Linked DNA regions of Homo sapiens: region 1 is linked to region 2. The links are contacts of gene promoters, found by promoter capture Hi-C in blood cells and fetal thymus (Javierre and others, 2016). All regions are on one chromosome and are shown on one strand. The core of a region is centred on a gene start or on the middle of the fragment in contact, and the rest is flanking DNA. Distances in the headings are between cores, read along the strand shown. Region 1 overlaps PCED1B (PC-esterase domain containing 1B). Region 2 holds the start of HDAC7 (histone deacetylase 7).

Region 1 (2,700 bases), core at 201-2,700, 610 kb after region 2:
ACATATAATGTTTTACCCTGTGAATGTGCTTTCACACACAGATATCCTTTACTATTAGCAGCTCATTAGTAGTTATAGCCACAGAGAAATTTAAACTTTGCTTTATGCAAGCCATTACCATTTTATCCACATTTTCTATCTTAAGGAACGCAATTATTTTTCTTATCTTCTTGGGAATCCTATAAGAGGGCCAGAAATCAGCCCATTAAATATATACATATATATACATTAATTTCAGCTGGCTCGTGTGTGTATGTGTTTAAATCTATTCCTGGGCTGCCTTAAACGAATGGGCCAAATTTGGCAAATCACAAAACTATGTTTTTTTCTTTGGTTGTCTGACTTAAACAGTCCACATATTTTTGATAATTTCTCTTCAAAGCACTCACAATTAGTACTTTCAAGCACATATGAATAATGAATAATTTGTTTCTATTAGGGTACGAAATCTTCTCTGATAACATATTAGGAACTTTGAGATTCTGGATTAAAACTTCTCATGAGTTCGATTTAGTAACAGAACTAAATTTTGCACGAAGTATGTGCAAACTTTGTGTTGATGAACAAGGCAATACTTATTGGGATTTGGGATGTTACAGATTGAGAAAAGCCAAATCAGTGATTTCACTATTCAGGATGGATGGAATGAGAAATGTGAATTTATAAAAGATCCCATTCTGTCAGGATTTCTTAAACATTTCCACAAAATTCTTAGAATTCTTATGTTTTATGCAAGTTCTGTATTCTGTTCCAATGCAGCCTAGTGGTTCAGAACATGGCCTTTGCAGGCAGAAAAGCCTGAGTTCAGAGTCCCAAATTAATAATCCACAAGCTGTGTGACTTTGGGAAAGGTACTCAACTCCTCTGGCCCACTTCCAGTTGTGAAGTTTAAACCTGCAAAGTGCTAAGCAGACTGCTTGGTACTTAGTAAATGCTCATTTTTGTTCCAGGGATTAGTATACATGCATCCATGCTTTAGTAATGCAAAATAATTCTTTAAATGACTAACCACTGGAAAAAAACGTAAATACTGACAAGTACCTTGTTTGATGGGCACTGTTCCATGGGCTGGTATGACACCATCACTGCAGGAATAGACTGCGCAAGTGGAGGGGAGATGACAGAAATCATCGTTAGGTCAAGTTGAAGCTCGGGGAGATTGAGCAACTGTCTGAATCACACAGGTTAACTACTGAGCTTGGACTAAAGACCAGGCTTCCTGGGTCCTGGACTCATAGTTCCAGAGCTATAGTTCATGAATTTTTTTCTCTAAGGCTGTAAGCTCTTTTTACAGAGAATAATTTAATGCCCTGCAAGAACTGGGTCTTACATTATTTAGCAATGTCCCTTACCTTTAAACCACAGGCTTAGTTTTCCAATTCCGGTCCTCTCTCCTTTTTTCTTTTTGTTTTTTGAGACAGAGTCTCTTGCTCTGTCACCTATGCTGGAGTGCAGTGGCATGATCTCAGCTCACTGAAACCTCCACCTCCGGGCTCAAGTGATCCTCACACCTCAGTCTCCCACCTACCCCCAGTAGCTGGGACCACAGGAGTGAGCCACCATGCCCTGCTAGTTTTTTGTATTTTTGGTAGAGATTGGGTTTTTTTTTTTTTTTTTTTTGAGACGGAGTCTCGCTCTGTCTCCCAGGCTGGAGTACAGTGGCACGATCTCGGCTCACTGCAAGCTCCGCCTCCCGGGTTCACGCCATTCTCCTGCCTCAGCCTCCCAAGTAGCTGGGACTACAGGCGCCCGCCACTACGCCCGGCTAATTTTTTGTATTTTTAGTAGAGACGGGGTTTCACCGTTTTAGCCGGGATGGTCTCGATCTCCTGACCTCGTGATCCGCCCGCCTCGGCCTCCCAAAGTGCTGGGATTACAGGCGTGAGCCACCGTGCCCAGCCGAGAGATTGGGTTTTACCTTGTTGCCCAGGCTGGCTTTGAACTTCTGGGCTCAAGTGATCCACCCGCCTCAGCCTCCCAAAGTGCTGGAATTACAGGCCTGAGCCACTGCGCCCAGTTTTTTTTTTTTTTTTTTTTTTTTGAGACAGAGTCTCACTCTGTTGCCCATAGTAGAGTGCAGTGGTGCGATCTTGGCTCATTGCAACCTCTGCCTCCCAGGTTCAAGCAGTTCTCCTGCCTCAGCCTCCTGAGTAGCTGGGATTATAGCCATGTGCCACTACACCTGGCTCCTTTTTTTTTTTTTAAAGTAGAGTTGGGGTTTCACCATGTTGGCCAGGCTGGTCTTGAACTCCTGGCCTCAAGTGATCCACATGCCTCAGCCTCCCAAAGTGCTGGGATTACAGGCGTGAGTCACCGCACCTGGCCATAAGGTTGTTTTGTCAAGGAAGATAGAAACAGCTTAATATTTTTGGATGTGTGCTGTTCTTCCTTTCTTACTTTATTAGATAAACATCCATCGAGTGCTCCTTCGGTCAGGCACAGTGCTTAGCACCTGAGATATGAGGTTGAGTAGGATATGGTCTTCTCTATGTTCTGTAGCTCACAGTGCAGGGAGGGAAAAACACAGAAGCAGATAACTAGAATTCAATGTTGGGAGTGCATTTATGGCTTTATGTTAGAGTATCACTTCTATTACTGAAAAGGGATTTTTAAAATTCTACTGAAAACATGAAAATGAAAATAGCGCCATGAAAAGTAGCTTCTAGTCATATTCTTTTATGATGAATATTTGCTTTGCAT
Region 2 (2,707 bases), core at 83-2,582:
CCTAGGCCACTGTGGGCTCTTGCTTCCAATCAGACATGACTCCACCTCTGGGGCTGCCTCAATTTTTCCTTCTCTGGATTCTTGGGGTTTCTTAGGATTGCGGGAGATAGAATGGGGTCAGGGGAAGCTGCTCCTTGGTTTACAATGGTGGCGCCTCACGCTGCAGAGAGCCCAGTGTTCCTGCGTGGTGGACCTCTCCCCTTCCTAGGAGCAGCTCCAGATTGCTGGAGGCAGACACGGCTGACCGGCTAGCCCAGGAAGCACAATGGCGAGGTCCTTAGCCCCTGACCCCTGAATCTGACCTTCTCTCCAGCTAAAAGCGGAGGGAGAGGCAGGGAGGGCCACTGCCTAAAGCCGGCCCTGAGCTGAGTTTATTAGCTGAGGGAGGGCTGGAGGCGGCTGCATTCCGACTCACAGACTGGAACATTTCTGTGATCCGCTGTAATGCACTGGGGGACACTGGGCACATTGCTGAAGTTTGACTCATAGGGACCGGGAGGGGGAAAGAGGGGGGTTGTGGAGGGAGAGGAATGGGAGGAAGAGAGGAAGAGGAGAGGAGGGAAGGAAGTCCCTTGAGAAATTTCTTTAAAAAAAGAAAACTTTCAAAATCTGCACCACCCCCACACCCTTTTTCTTTTAATAGGAACAGGCTGGACCCTTCCGTTCCCCTCAGCAGGCATGGTGTGTGTGTGGGGGTGCCAGTGGGGGAGGGCTGGGCAGTGATTCAAATCAGATCCTGGAACTTTCCTGAGGCAAGTCGTGCTTATGTGTGTGTGTGTGTGGTGGGGGGTGTCCGTCTGGGATTCCTTGTATGGGACATGGGACACCACGCGTGTCCCACTGTGCCCGCGTGTGGCTGCGTGCTTGTGGGCTGTACGGGTATGTAGTGTGTGCACGGGGGTCCACCCCGAAGCCCCAGTGTGTGCTGTGTAAATGATTCTGCCCCTTGTAAACATGGATGCGTGCTCGTGTACGTTGTGTATGCGAGGGTGCGTGCGCCCAGGTAGCTGGGTTTCCGGGAATTGTGCACGGCTCGGAGCGCCTCGCGGCGGCTGGGGCTCGGAGCCGCGGCCGGCGTTCCGGGTTCGGCGCTGCCTCCCCGGCAGTGCGCCGCGCCCCGCCGCGATCTGGCCGCGCGCGGTGTCTGCGGCCCGCCTGTGCGCCGCGCGGTGCAGTGTCTGCCGGGGTGGTGTGTCCCAGGGCCGCGAGCGCCTGCCCCCTCCCTCCCCTCCCCCTTGGCCCGCTCTCAGACTCAGATAAAGCATTTCCTTCCATTGTCATCCTACCCGGCCGGCCGGGCTGCCAGGGCCCTCCCCCTCCCGGCCCCCTCCCTTCCTCTCGCCGTCTCACAGTCGCTCTGCAGCCTCCGGCGACTGGGGGGATGTGAGGCCGGCGCCCCAGCCCCCCGCCCCGCCATGAGCCCCCCGCTCTGAGGGCCCCGGCCCCTGGATGCACAGCCCCGGCGCTGGTGAGTACTGGGCGGCCGCCCCCCGCCCCGCCCTGCGCGCGGCACCCAGCGTCGCCCGCCCAGGCTCGGCCTCCGGCCCTGGCCCCGGCTCCGGCTCCGGCTCCGGCTCGGGCTCCCGCCAGCCCCGCGGGCCCAGCCCGGCTTGCGCCCCCCGACCGCGCCTGTCCCGCCCGGCTCCGCGGGGCTCTGGCAGGCTCCGGGTCGGAGCTGGTTCCGGGGGCCGGAGGGCTCGGGCCTCCCGCGGGGCGCCCACATCCGCCCGCCCCGGGGCAGCTACAGGCCCAAGGGAGGGAGTTGGAGGCCCCGGCCGCCGGTGTGCGGGCCCCACGTCCCATCACCCCTGTTCCCGGGGAGGACGAGCCGAGGGACCGGGGAGGGAGGGACGGCCGCGGTGGCCCGGCGAGGGGGCGGTGCTCCGGGGCGGAAGGTTTGGAAGCGCGAGGGCAAAGGGCAGGACCCACTGAGTTGGGGCTGGGCTTTGTGGGGCTGGACATCAGCGCCCCCATCCCGTGGAGCCGGGCAGGGCCCTACTCAGATCCTTCGGCGGGGAAAGAGGTCCCTTGGAGGGGTCTCTGGCTGGGAGGTTTCTCTGAGCATTGCCCCCCATCCTTGCTCACCCATCAGGGTGAAGAGACACCTGTGCCCTGGTGAGCTGTGGAGGTCAATGCCGGCAGCGGCGCGGGAAGCGGGGCGCCGCAGGCTGTGTGAGGGGTGGGGGACAGGATGTGCACCCCCCAGGCCTGGGGTCTGTTGGTGTTGGGGAGTGTGAGAGCAGGCGGCAAATTTGGCGGATGGGCTGGGTTCCCACGACCAGAGTTTCTAGGCCTGTGGGCCAGGAGAGAGCCCTCTGGGGCCCGCAGGCCACCCAGTGCCCCACCCCCATTGCTTCCCGCTGTGGCTGCCCGTTTGGGTCTGACCTCCCCAGCCACGGCTGCTCCTCACTCCTTCTCCCCGCTGGCTGTCTTGCGCACCCAAAGGCCTCCCCCTGCATCTGGACACTGGCTGTCTCGCTGCCAACGCTCCCTGCCCACTCCCCTAGGCAACATCTGCCTGAGGCCCAGCTCTGCCTGCCGCTTTCTAGGGTGAGAATGGGGCATCGGCCCTCAGCGGCCCTGCTGGGAGCTCAAGATCAACTTCTCAGCCTGTTCCCTGGACTTGCATCTGGACCTGTGGGACCTTCCTCAGGACCCCTATTCAGCTATAGGGCTGGCAGGAGACTGTGACTCAGGTCCCTGCCCT

What was found. The method cuts DNA at HindIII sites, captures the fragments that hold promoters and counts their contacts. A CHiCAGO score of 5 or more calls a contact.
Region 1: a fragment that was not itself captured here is called in contact with the fragment with the promoter of HDAC7 in region 2 in 1 of 17 cell types (non-activated CD4 T cells); the score reaches 5.1 in non-activated CD4 T cells.

What each region holds. Positions count from the first base shown.
Region 1 is chr12:47,210,995-47,213,694 of GRCh38, reverse strand. All of the region lies in intron 2 of PCED1B (PC-esterase domain containing 1B), which reads right to left. The region is part of intron 2 of PCED1B-AS1 (PCED1B antisense RNA 1); the gene reads left to right. Among named protein-coding and RNA genes, the nearest start is that of PCED1B-AS1, 4.1 kb to the left of the region's middle. The HindIII fragment of the contact is 8,343 bases long and covers 1-2,700 here.
Region 2 is chr12:47,818,528-47,821,234 of GRCh38, reverse strand. HDAC7 (histone deacetylase 7) reads left to right here and starts at 1,332. Exons shown (of 26, transcript NM_015401.5): 1 at 1,332-1,468. The coding sequence starts at 1,450. RefSeq lists enhancers at 1-491, 1,830-2,403 and silencers at 1,042-1,381, 1,522-1,601, 1,612-1,921. The HindIII fragment of the contact is 23,145 bases long and covers 1-2,707 here.